Regions from separate parts of the Homo sapiens genome. Here region 1 is linked to region 2. Evidence: promoter capture Hi-C in human tissues and cell types (Jung and others, 2019). All regions are on one chromosome and are shown on one strand. The core of a region is centred on a gene start or on the middle of the fragment in contact, and the rest is flanking DNA. Distances in the headings are between cores, read along the strand shown. Region 1 overlaps LOC105377183 (a long non-coding RNA gene). Region 2 holds the start of GBE1 (1,4-alpha-glucan branching enzyme 1).

Region 1 (6,668 bases), core at 1,004-3,503, 1.7 Mb before region 2:
CTGAAATTTAAAAAATAATAATAAAGAATCAAATACATAAAATTACAAGATATTCAAAACTTCATAAACAAGTACGACTTAACTGAGTAATGCAATCTTATTTCAATAAAAACAACGAAATAAATATACACATTAATACAAAGAAAAAATATGACTATCTGATGAGAGAATCATTCTATAAAACTCAACATAAATTTAATTACCAAAATAATATTTAGTTGATCCTTGAACAACACAAGCTTGAGCTGCACAAGTCCCATTATACATAAGTTTTCTTCCATCTCTGCCACCCTTGAGATAGGAGGACCAATCCCCTTCTGTTCCTCTTCTGCTCAGCCTACTTAACATGAAGACAATGAGGATGTACACTATTTATTTTTGTTTTTGTGGTACTTGCTTTTGGGTTCTTGGTCATGAAGTCTCTGCCTAAGCCAATGTCTAGAAGGGTTTTTCTGATGTTATCTTCTAGAATTTTTATGGATTTAGATCTTAGATTTAAGTGTTTGATCCATCTTGAGTAGATTTTTGGTAAGGTGAGAGATGAGGATCCAGTTTCATTCTTCTACATGTGGCTTGCCAATTACCCCAGCACCCACTTTATGGTATTGTTTCCTTCATTGAAGATCCTTTGGCTAAATTTGGCTTTATTTCTTGGTTATCCATTCTGTTCCATTGGTCTATGTGCCAATTTATATACCAGTACCATGCTGTTTTGGTAACTATAGCCTTGCAGTATATTTGAAGTTGGGTAATGCAATTCCTCCCTCCAGATTTGTTCTGGCTTAGTCTGGCTTTGGCTATGAGGGTTCTTTTTTTTTATGTTCCATATGAATTTTAAGACTGTTTTTTTCTATGTCTGTGAAGAGTGATGATGGTAGTTTTATGAGAATTGCATTGAATCTTTAGATTGTTTTTGACAGTGTGGTCATTTTCACAATATTGATTCTACCCATCCATGGGCATGGGATGTGTTTCCACTTGTTTGTGTCATAGATTATTTTTTTCAGCAATGTTTTGTAGTTTTCTTTGTAGAGATCTCTTACTTCCTTGCTTGGGTATATTCCTAAGTATTTTATTTTATTTTTTGCAGCTGTTGTAAAGGGAATGACTTCTTGATTTGATTCTGAGCTTGATTGTTGTTGATGTATAGCAGTGCTACTGATTTGTGTACATTGATTTTGTATCCTGCAACTTTACTGAATTTATTTATCAGATTTAGGAGTCTTTGGGAGGAGTCTTTAGGATTTTTCTCAGTATGATCTTATCATTAGTAAACAGTGACAATTTAACTTCCTCTTTGCCAATTTGGATGCCTTTTATTTATTTCCCTTATGTGACTGCTCTTGCTAGGCCTTCCAGGTCTATGTTGAATAGGTGTAGTGAAACAGGGCATCCTTGTTTTCTTCCATTTTTCAGGTGTAATGCCTTCAACTTATCTTCATTCAGCATAATGTTGGCCATGGGTTTGCCATGAATGGCTTTTATTAACCTTGAGGTAAGTTCTTTCAATGCCAATTTTGCTGGATGTTTTAATCATAAAGGGATGCTGGATTTCACTAAATGCTTTTTCTGCATCTATTGAGATGATCATATGGTTTTTGTTTTTAATTGTTTATCTAATGTATTACATTTATTGACTTGCATATGTTAAACAAACCCTGCATCCCTGATATGAAACTCACTTGATCCTGGCATATTATCTTTTTTATATGCTGTTGTTTATGAATTTTATTTATCTTTTTGACGAACTAGCTTTTTGTTTCATTTATATTTTGTATTATTTTGTTTCAATTTCATTTAGTTCTACTCTGATTTTTGTTACTTCTTTTCTTCTGCTGGGTTTGGGTTTGGTTTGTTCTTGTTTCTCTAGTTCCTTGAGGTGTGACTTTAGGTTATCTATTTGTGCTCTTTCAGTTTCTTTGATGTAGGCTAGCACTGCTTTTTCTATATCCCAGAGGTTGTGATAAGTTGTGTCACTCTTATTCAGTTTAAATAATTTTTACAGTTTCATCTTGATTTTATTGTTGATCCAAAGATCATTCAAGAGTACATTGTTTAATATTCATGTATTTGTATAGTTTTCAGGATTTCCTTTGGAGTAAATTTCCACTTTTATTCCACTGTAGTCTGAGAGGATACTTGACATATTTTCAGTTTTCTTAAATTTTGAGGCTTGTTTTGTGACCTATCATCTGGCCTATCTTGGAGAATGTTCCATGTGCTGATGAAAAGCATGTGTAGTCTTCAGTTGTTGGGTAGAATGTTCTGGAAATATCTGTTGAGTCCATTTTTTTCAAGGGTGTAGTTTAAGTCCATTGTTTTTTGTTAAATTTGACTTGATGAAACGTCTAGTGCTGTCAGTGGAGTATTGATGTTCCACACTACTATTGTTTTGCTATCTGATTTCTTAACTCTACTAGTGATTGTTTTAAAATTTGTGGACTCCAGTGTTACATGCATACGTTTAGAATTGTGAATGCACACATGTTTAGAATTGTGATATTTTCCTGTTGAACTAATGCTTTTATCACTATATAATGTCTCTCTTCATCTTTTTTACCGTTGTTGCCTTAAAGTCTGTTTCGACTGATATAAGAATAGTTACTCCTGCTTACTTTAGGTTTCCATTTATGTGGAATATCTTTTACCATGCCTTTACCTTAAATTTGTGTGAGTCCTTATGGGTTAGGTGAGACACTGGAAGTTAGCAGATACTTGGTTGGTGGATTTTCATCCATTCTACCATTCTGTATTTTTTAAGTGGAGCATTTAAGCCATTTACATTTAATGTTAGTATTGAGATGTGAGGCACCGTTCTATTAATCATGTTAATTGTTGCTTTAATATCTTTTTTTTAATTTTTTTCATTGTGTTATTGTTTTATAGAACATGTGAGATTTATGGTTAAAGAGGTCCTATTTTGGTGTATTTTATGGTTTTGTTTTAAGATTTAGAACTCCTTTTAGCAGTTATTGTAGCGCTGGCTTGATAGTGGCAAATTTTCTCAGCATTCGTTTGTCTTAAAAAGACTATTGCTCCTTCATTTATAAAGCTTAATTTTGCTGGAAAAAAATTCTTAATTGGCAATTATTTTGTTTCAGGAGGCTAAAGATAGGACCCCAATCCCTTCTGGCTTGTAAGTTTTCTGCTGATAAATCCGCTGTTAATCAGGTAAACTGATGCTTTTTTCTCACTGCTCTTAAAATTCTTTCCTTCATTTTGACATTAGATAACCTGAGGACTATGTGCTAAGGTGATGATCTTTTTGTGGTAAATTCTCCAGGTGTTCCGTGAGTTTCTTATATTTAGATGGCTATCTCTCTAGCAAGACCAGGAAAGTTTTCGTCTATTATTCCTTCAAGTAAGTTTTCCAAACTTACAGAAATCTTAGATTTCTCTTCTTCTTCAGGAAAACCAATTATTCTTAGGGTTGGCCATTTCACATAATCCCAAATTTCTTGGGGACTTTGTTCTTTTTTTTCTGGTGGGGGGTGGATTCCTTTTTCTTTGTCTTCATCTGATTGGGTTAATTCAGAAGCTTTGTCTTTGAGTTCTGAAGCTCTTTCTTCTTGTTGTTCTAGTTTATTGTCGAAACTTTCCAGTCCACTTTACATTTCTCTAAGTGTGTCTTTTATCTCCAGAAGTTGTGATTTTTTTTTTCTTTATGATATCTATTTCTCTGGAGGATTTTTCATCCATATCCTGTATTTCTCTTAATTTCTTTAAGTTGCTTTTTTAACCTTTCTCTGGTATCTGCTTGAGTAGCTTAATAATCAACTTTCTATATATATCTGGCAATTCAGATATTTCTTCTTGGCTTAGATCCATTGCTGGGGAGCTAGTGTGATCTTTTGGGGGTGTTATCGGACCCTGTTTTGTCACATTACCAGAATTACTTTTCTATTTTCTTCTCATTTGGGTAGACTATTTCAGCAGAAAGATCTGGAACTCAAAGCCTGCTCTTCAGATTCTTTTGTCCCAAGGGGGGATCCCTTGATATGTTGCTCTACCCCTTCCTCTAGGAATGGGGCTTCCTGAGAGACAGACTGCAGTGATTGTTATTGCTTTTCTGGGTCTGACCACCCAGCAGGGTTATCAGACTCTGGGCTGGTGCTGGGGAATGTCTGCAGAGTCCTGTGATGTGATCCATCTTCAGGTCTCCCAGCTGTGGTTATCAGCACCTGCTCTGGTGGAAGTGTCAGGAGAGTGAAGTAGACTCTGTGAGAATTCTTGGTTGTAGAAATGTTTAGCATGCTGGCTTTCTCAAAAGCTTGTTATGCTAGCAGTGACGTTGTCACATGGACAAACTCAGGAACTCTGGTTAGCCAGGATTTTGCAGGCAGTGGAACTAGCTGTTGTTTTCTCTTTCCTGGGAGCAGCGTTATTCTGTCATGCATTGCTGTGATGGCCTGAGTTGGTTGGTCTCCTGCCAGGAGGTGGTGCCTTCAAGAGAGCACCAGCTGTGGTAGTATTAGAGGGATGTAAACTTGCACTAAGTTGGTTAGGGTAAGTAATCTAGTTTCTCAGGTGATGGGCAGGGCCATAAAGCTCCAAAGAGTTTATGTCTTTTGTGTTTGGCTACCAGGGCTATCAGATGGTAGCAGGGTTGGGTGGGTCTGGGTTCAGACTCTTCTTGAGTGGGGCTTGTTGCAGCCACTCTTATGGGGGTGGTTCTCAGGCCAGTGGGGTATGTTCCAGATGGGATTATGGCTGTCTCTGCTGTGTCATATAGTTTTCCAGAGAACTGGGGGATAGCCAGGAGCAAAGGTCCTCACCCAGTTCCCACGCAGTTGGCGAGGCTGGTCTTGCTCCTGCAGTCCCCTGCTTAGACCTTGCCCCAGGCCTTAAGCTTCACCACTAAGAAAGCAAGCATGGATTTCAGGCCTTGACCCTCCCCATCTGCCCACACTGGGCAGATCTGATGGCAGAGGCTCCTGTATTCATATCTGAAGTAATTCCCATTCACGCTCCAGATTCTTCTCAAGAAAAATTGTGCCCAGTAGAAATTGTTACAAATTTCAGTTGGAAACTTCTTTTATCCTGGAACCCTTTTTTGAATTCTGCTGGCTGCCTTCCCTGAGGGTCCATGTGAGGTATAGTCAGAGATGGCTTTCCTGGTCTCAAGCTGGAGACTGGGAATGACTATAATACTCTTCCCACTGCTGCTTCTACTTTTGTATTTTGTGCAGCTCTTTATATTCACTTGAGCTCTATTACAGATTAAATCCTTCTCCAATGATGTGGATTTTTAGATTCCCAGTGAGGATGTGTGTTCAAAGGTAGATTCCCCCCTCACACTTTTAGAACTCACATTTTTCTCCTGTCTCATGAAACTTGCAGCAGTATGCCACTTTTTTCAAAGGATTTGTGAATTCTTTTTTTTTTTTTTTTCTGGTATATTCCTGCAGTGGTTCTTCAAGCAAAAGTTCATGGTGTGAGTCTCCACACATTGTTCTTTCTGTTCAAGTGGAAGCTGTATATTAGCCCTGTCTCCTATCCACCATCTTCCTCACACTCCCCTAATAAGGCATTCTTAATTTGATATAACGTATTAATTATTTCCCTCTAAGAACAAAAATGTGACAAAGATACTTGTTATCACTAATTCAATTCAAAGTCATACTTGATAAGTTAAATGGTCTAAAATGCAAGAAAAGGAAATGAATGAGATTGAATAAAGTGAAATAACCTTGCCATTACTCATGGTCATATGACTGTGCAAGTACACAATCTAGAAAAGCCTACAAAAGAAATATTAGCATGAAAAACTAAATTAAACAACCTTACTTGATATTACATTATTAAAAATTAATGGCATTTCTAAATAGCATTAATAAAAGTAACAACAACAAAAAAGAAAATTTAAAATAATATTTAAAATAGCATCAAACACATCAAGTAGACTTTTAATTTCTAGCTATAATAGACAGTAGATATTGGCAAATTGTCTCCCCCCATCCAAGAATACAAGTTAAAAACTGGCAAATATTGCCAAGAAAACCTCCACAATTTTACATCCCTGGAAATGTACAAAGTTACAAGTTGGTAAGTGTTTATTCAAGAAAAACTGTTGAATAATGGGGAAAACAGTGGGAATCTGTAGGCTTCTTGCCTGAAGCCATTCCATTTACCCTTCCCTTAACCCGAAACCTCTACCCTGCCAAGTTTGATTTGTTAATATTACTACAGTGGGGCTGGAAAAGGATAAAAAGCAGCTTCACTGCTAAGAGGGCAGATTTGATTTTCAGCAGAAGGTAAATACCCATGCCTGGTGACATTGTCAGAAAATAAAGCACAGTCTGTAAGAAACAATGAGGAAACCCATGACTGTGCTGGCCTGGAATTAGCATCTTGGTTGAGTCAGTGATAATTCTGCCAAAAAATTAGTGGAATCTTTGAAATTAGAGAGGCATAGAAAGCTATATAACTCCTCATGCATCCCTGACTATCTGGAAAACTATATACATGTGCAAGGCAAAATCAAGAGAGCCCAGGGGGAATTAATTGTGAAGCAAGAGATAAAAATGTCCCAAACTTCAAATACTCTCTCTAATTCACACACAGATTTATTGCCAAAGATTGAAAGAAACCTCTGTTTAGGAAGTATGAAGAACAGTTAAAACTCAGTAATAGAAGATACGCATTTCTCTTAAAATATGCAAAAAATT
Region 2 (6,774 bases), core at 1,360-3,859:
ATTCCTGCCACTCCTCATTACACACCGGGTATGCTAGATTTTTTTTTTTTTTTAAAAGACCAATTCAATTCCTCCATTGCACGAACTCTGCCATTCTGGAATGCTCTTCCTCTCATGGCTCATTTCTTCTTGTCATCACACTTCAGCTTAAATGTCAGTTCTGAACGGCCTTTCTTGACGACCGGAACTAACACAGATATTTGCTCAGTTTTAATTCTCGACAATGCACTTACCACTATCTGACATTGTTTTGTATTATTTTATGTATTTCACTGGTAATTGTGTCTCCTCTCCCTCCTACCCCCAATAGAGTATGACAACTGGGACTTGTCTTATCATTTATCCACAGTACGTGGGAAAATGGCCGGCACATGGGACTTCAATAAATATGTGCTCAATGGTGAACCACCTAGGTAGGCAGATATGTACGCTAGGATCGTGCTCGTGGGGAGCTTAGGTTCTAAAGGGAAAGGTCAATAAATAGGAGAAAAACAAACACCTAGATTCTGTTAACTGTTGCATAGAAGAGATTGAAGTTATACAGAAGACACTGAGGAGTCTATAATCAGAAGTTTCTCAGGTATGAGGTGACATTTTTGCTGAGGCTGGAATGAAGGCTTGGAAAAAATTAAGCAAGTAGAGCTCAGCTCCCTGAAAATTTCCAACAGAGAGAACAGCAAGCAAATAATCTTAGAGGCTATTATACAACAAATTCACTGAGTTCCAGGAAAGTCAGTGTGACTAGAGCATAGTAAAACTGGAAAATGATGAGAAAAGTGGCTGGAAAGGTAGTCAGGGTCCAGATTATACAAGCCTTGTTAGAGAATGATAAGCTGTTTCTATTTTACCCTAAGTGAAATACTATGCTATTTAAGTTGCTAAATGACATCGTCTGATTTACTCAGTGTAGAGTCTCACCAAACTGTGTCCCCAACCACCAGCATCAGAATCACTTCTGAGCTTGTTAAAAATGCAATCTGAAGCACCACATCGGAACTCAATTAAGATCCCTAGGTGATTCATATGCACATTAAAGTGTGAGAAACACTGGTACAGAGAATGGAGTAGAGGTGAGAAAGAGTAGAAGAGGGGAAGTCAGTTAGAGAGCTACATTCTGGTCCAAGTGAAGGAAAACAGTGGCCTGCATAAGAGTGACAGCAGGAAGGATGAGAAGACGGATTCTAGGTCACGTTTTGCAGACAGTTTGTTTAGGTCTCCTAGCCAGCTAAATGGAAATCTCAGTAGACAGGCAGTGATACAAGCCTGGGTTTCTGAAAAAAGTTTAGGCTTGGAGATGTAGATCTGTGGGTCTGTTATTAATAGTTGTCCTGCTTCGGGTTTTTATTTTTTTTTAATTTTCTTCCTTTTTTAGTGCTTTATATTTTACAAATGTCTGCAGCAGTTTTTTGTCATCTTTATGGAAAACAAGGCACGTCTTAAAGTCGTTCAAGTCCTTCACTTTTTCACACTGAGGTCTGTCTTCATATCCACTTATCTTTCAAGTCTATGAAACCCCTTATAAAAACTTTCCTTTGAAATATTTTAAAATTCAAGGCCCACGGCTGATTAATACTGTTTCTCCTCCATAACCCCTAGGATCCTCCAGTTCTGGGTTTTAACAAGAAAAATATCCTCAATCCTCTCTAGTTTCTAGGTGTAAAGCAGCTTGGACCCTCCTGGGTTTGGTGGGTCCATCTCTCTTGGAGTCCAACTCTGTATTCCTAAAAAGCAATTATTGAAATAGAAGCTAGTCAGTTAATGGCAATAAAAGAAGGGAATTCCAAGTGGGAGCTTCCCAAGCCAAGAGGAAGAGAGGTTTCTTGCCTTATCACTGTAAGTGGCAGAGTGGAGTTCCAATTCAATGATATCATTTGTGTTATCAAAGGTAGTTTAATCGTTGAAAAGCTTGTTAACAATTATAAACACAGGCAAATGCCTTTTCCTTTTTGGCCTTACGGAGAATGAGAAAAGTTCTTCCCATGGCTAAAATTCTTAGCTGTTGGTAATGCAGAAAAGAGTACCAGAACAGCAGAATTCCAACGGTATTCCAGGATTCTGTGTCTTGGTTAATTTTAAATTCACGTGACCTGGCAAACTTAGGAGAGTCCTGGTTGTAAGAGGTATTAACATTTTCAGCAGTAGTACTCTAGCTACACTTGACTGTTCCCCTCTCTGTGAATTTACATGATATGTTTGAAATACTGCCCCTCAAAAGTCTCAGAACTTTGAGAAATACGGTCCTTTCCAAAAAAACCCCTTATGTCCAATTTGAAGGGGTCGCTGTCAGTGGGTGCTTAAGTGGGTAAAGAAAAGCCAAGAATATGTCAGGGTGAGGAAGGCCAAGGCTGAGCGAGGTCAGCTTGGGACCCACCTCCTAGAATGACCTCCGCCAGCAGGAAAAAACCGTTAAGGGGAGGAAAGGGCAGGTCCCTGCGGCCTCCAGGTGCCAGCCGCGTGAGTGGGCGGAGAGGCCTCGGTGCCTCCTACCCGCTCCGGACGTGCGTCCCGGCATCACCCCGGGATCCGCTCCTCCCCGCTGGCGGGGGGAGAAAGGGCAGGAGGCCTTCCGTCCCGGCTATAAAGGGCCCCGGACCGCCGCGGCTCGCCTCGGCTTGCCTCGACACGCCTAGGCGCCCTCCGGCTCCGCCCTAGCCGCCGCGTCCCAGCTAGAGCTCCAGCGCCCGCTCAGGCCCCACTCGACCTCTCGGGCCTCGGCTACTTGGACTGCGGCGGAATATGGCGGCTCCGATGACTCCCGCGGCTCGGCCCGAGGACTACGAGGCGGCGCTCAATGCCGCCCTGGCTGACGTGCCCGAACTGGCCAGACTCCTGGAGATCGACCCGTACTTGAAGCCCTACGCCGTGGACTTCCAGCGCAGGTACCGCCGGAATCCCACCACCCCCACTTAGACAGGCAGCCCGCCTCCCAGGAGCCGTCTCGGGACACGGGCCGCCCCTCGGCCCTCGCGCGCCAACCCCGCCCCAGGCGGGGAGGAACCTGAGTGGGCGGGGCTCGGGGTGACTCGGGTAACCGGGTTCTGTGGCTTCCGTAGTGGCAGGTTTGACAGCGCTGGTGCCCGGAGCGGGCGCTGAAGAAACTTCTTTCCTCATCCCCTTTCCCCTCTGTTCTAATCAGCGGTCTTGCGCCATAGGGTACGTGCTGTGGCTCCAACACTTATTCCCCAGAGTGCTGCTGGGGAGTGACTCACCGCCGCTGCAGGTTTTCTGACTTTGGCACCCACTAGCGTGGGCCTGTGGAGTAACGTGGGCATAACTCCTGGCACGTGTAATTACGCATTTAAAACTTTCTAGTTTATTTCATAGCAAATGTTGTGATTTTATATCTAAGAGGATTCCTTCAGGCAGACACTATATCCTTTTGTTTTTTCCTTGCTAATATTCCTCATTTAGGGGAAGATTACACCTACATTGATCAATTTTTTCTCCCCTTGGATCAACATTGAGAAGTTAAATGTACATCAACATTTGTCCGTGTGTGACTTTAACCATCTTGAAGAGGGAGAAAGGTCAGGAAAGCAACTTTTACAGGCCAATGTCGTTTTAGCTTGTCTTCTACCATTGTGTACCATACAACTTTAGTTACTGGGCTAATAATTCTATTCATAAGTTCCACTAAAAAGGTACAGGTCTTTTTCTGTTGTCGTTGTTGTTTGAAGTAAAAGAGCTATTATACAAGTTGTAATAGTTATACTTGTGAGGTTACCCCATTTTGATTTAATAGTTTCTCCCCTTTTAGGAGAGACACTGCAGAATGGAAACTATCCTGGCAACAGAATATACATGGCCAATTTTTCGAGTGATGGAAAACATCCAACTAGTTAACTGGCATGAAGGAGCGTTGAGAGTAATGAAAATGGGTTGATTTGGAGTTTGAAAAAAGCCCAGCAAATTGTTTGTGTCCTAGCATTTTCAGGTATTAAATGCATTCAAATCAGCAAGTGTTTATTGAGGAACTCCTATAAATAAAACACTGCTCTAGGGATTGTAAGGGATGTGAAGTTTCATTCTTGAGCTTGTATATAGTAGTGAATGAGGCCTCTGTAAAATAATCACCTTGAGCTGTCCCTCACTTAATCAGATGATTATGCTCTTATATAAACCATATGAGGAGCAGCCTTGTGAAATTGTTTTCAGAATTTACAGTATATGCTTTCAGAGAAACTTAGTGCATAATCGTCATAGGTTTAAGGTTGGATTTGATTTAGAAATAGTCAGAAAAAATTTAGAACAAAAGATAGTGATTAAAGGTAGTGGTTAGATTTTTTTTTTGATGTCCTTGTAACCATGACATTAATTTACCTGTGTGCTTTGTAAAAGGACACTTAAGATATTTATTAAAGAAGAGTTGTGGAAATGTTTTATCTACACCCCCTTCCTTTTTTTTTTAAATGACACAAACAGATTAACATTCTTTATTAAGTGTTTCTTTCATGTACTTTATTTCCAACTCCACTGGGATTGAAGCATTTATAATCTTCTTTCATGGTTTGCCAAAACTAATGAAGGGAACAAAGGCCAAGATAAAGAAGGGAAGAGAATCCAGTGTGCTTGGTGAAAAGTCTCGTCCAGTGGGCCCTCATGCCTCACTCTGACCCGGATTTTACTTTTGTCCTTGGTTCTGAGTAATGGCCATTTGCTAGCATACATGTTCCATTTAGGCATATCAAATAGTAATTTGGCATTTGTTAGTGGTAACTTCTATTGTTAACACTTGAAGAATAAAACATTTTTCCTTCATACAATCTGGTCTTAGTTCCTTGTCCAATTTTCCATTTATTTCTGATAATCCATTTGGACTGTGTGTCTTTGGCCTAACACAAATACATAACCAGTCAAACACTTAGGTGCAAAGTATGCTTACTAAGGAGTGAAGAAAATTTGAGGTACAAACAACAGTATATAATTAAGGTGATGAAGAAGGAAATTTCTCTTTGATGGACTGTCTCATCCTTCCCCAACAGATATCTTTTGATTTGAAATTTTTTGGATGTTCCCTTAGGATGTTTTGGATGTTCCTTCCCTTCTTTACCTTGGCCTTTTCCCCTTCTGTATTAGTCCGTTTTCATGCTGCTGATAAAGACATACCTGAGACTGGGCAATTTACAAAAGGAAGAGGTTTATTGGACTTACAGTTCCAAGTGGCTGAGGATGCCTCGCAATCATGGCAGAAGGTGAAAGTCATGTCTCACATGGTGGCAGACAAGAGAAGAGAGCTTGTGCAGGGAAACTCCCCTTTTTAAAACCATCAGGTCTCGTGAGACTTACTTACTATCAGGAGAACAGCGTGGGAAAGACCTGCCCCCATGATTCAGTTACCTCCCATCAGGTCCCTCCCACAACACGTGGGAATTCAAGATGAGATCTGAGTGGGGACACAACCAAACCATATCACCTTCATTAGTTGTTCTTTTCACCTTCTGTACCTGTGAGAATTTTGAATCAAGTGTAGAGGATTAATGAGTTACTCTGCTATAAAATAAAAATTAGTACATTATTAGCATGACTGACCACCTCCATGTTGTCTCATTGATGACCTCCCAAAATAGCATTTTCCACTTGATTTTTCTACCTTTTATTTAGTTATTTACTTGTTGTTACACTACAATTAGTTGTTATAATTCCAAAATCTTAGTGCTTTAAAACAACATTTAATTGTTCCCATATTACATGTCAGCATGAGTCAGCCAGAGGGCCCTCCTCATGGCAGTCACTCAAAAATCTAGGCTTATGAAGGATTTGTTTTGAAACATGCTTCTGTAGAGGTGGTCACAGTGCAAAGAGAAGCATGTTGAACTATGCACTATTTCTTACAGCTTTTGCCTAGCAGTGAGTCCATTCTGCTGATACGTTACATTGGCCAGTGCCCATCAGCTTGCCATGTGGGTGAAACAGAGAATTGGCATTTGTGAACATTGTCAAAACAACACAATTTAATAATACTACTTTATACCCTCTGTTTAATGTTTATAAAGTACTTTCAGATCCGGTATTTAATGTAATCCTCATAACAAAACCATGAGGTAGACAGACGGTGGGCATTTTTCCTGTTTTGCAGATGAAGAAACTAAGTGATGGGCTTGAGCATATATGGCATAAGTAAGTGCTGCAACTGTGATTAATCTTTCTTTACTGAAACTGTTCTCAACCAGTTCACAGACAACTTCATGATAATTTAGGGATCCCTCTTTTCTTTATCTCTAGCATTGTACATGTTGGACTATTTCTTGGCTCTTTGAAGCCATAATCTTGCTTTTCTTTCATTTTCTCAGCCTCTTTTTGACCATTTAATGTAAGAGATTTTCAAGGTTCTTCCCTGGGATCATTTATGTATTTCTATTGTATATTTTCTCCCTAGACATTCTCATCCATCCCATGGATTCCATCTATCTACTGAGGCTGCCCACATCTGTCTCCACTCTAGATCTTTCTCCTTATCTTGGACTTATTTATATCTTCATTTTGATGTTTTATAAATACAAATCTCAACATGTATAAAACTGAACTTAACAGATTTTCATTCCAAACATGTTTGTCCCTGTCAACCCAATCGCAGTGTCTGGAATCTTCCTCTACCAGCTGCTCAAACCTAAAAGGTAACGAGTGATTTCTAATTACTCCCGTCTCCTCCTAGACCTTTGAGTCTAGTCAATTGTAGCCCCTAACTTTTAAGTATGTAGCATGCTGCCTTCCTACTGCTGCCATCCTAGTTCAGGTTGCTAGCATCTCTAGTATGGTTTACAGAAACAACCTCAT

Evidence for each region. The method cuts DNA at HindIII sites, captures the fragments that hold promoters and counts their contacts. A contact is called where the count stands out against the background at its distance.
Region 1: a fragment that was not itself captured here is called in contact with the fragment with the promoter of GBE1 in region 2 in 1 of the 25 tissues and cell types used here (dorsolateral prefrontal cortex).

The regions. Positions count from the first base shown.
Region 1 is chr3:83,438,048-83,444,715 of GRCh38, reverse strand. All of the region lies in intron 2 of LOC105377183 (a long non-coding RNA gene), which reads right to left. Among named protein-coding and RNA genes, the nearest start is that of LINC00971, 1.4 Mb to the left of the region's middle. The HindIII fragment of the contact is 4,615 bases long and covers 1-4,560 here.
Region 2 is chr3:81,757,480-81,764,253 of GRCh38, reverse strand. GBE1 (1,4-alpha-glucan branching enzyme 1) reads left to right here and starts at 2,609. Exons shown (of 16, transcript NM_000158.4): 1 at 2,609-2,879. The coding sequence starts at 2,737. RefSeq lists silencers at 2,381-2,480, 2,981-3,060, 5,642-5,936 and enhancers at 2,136-2,744, 2,531-2,820, 3,161-3,330. The HindIII fragment of the contact is 8,733 bases long and covers 1-6,774 here.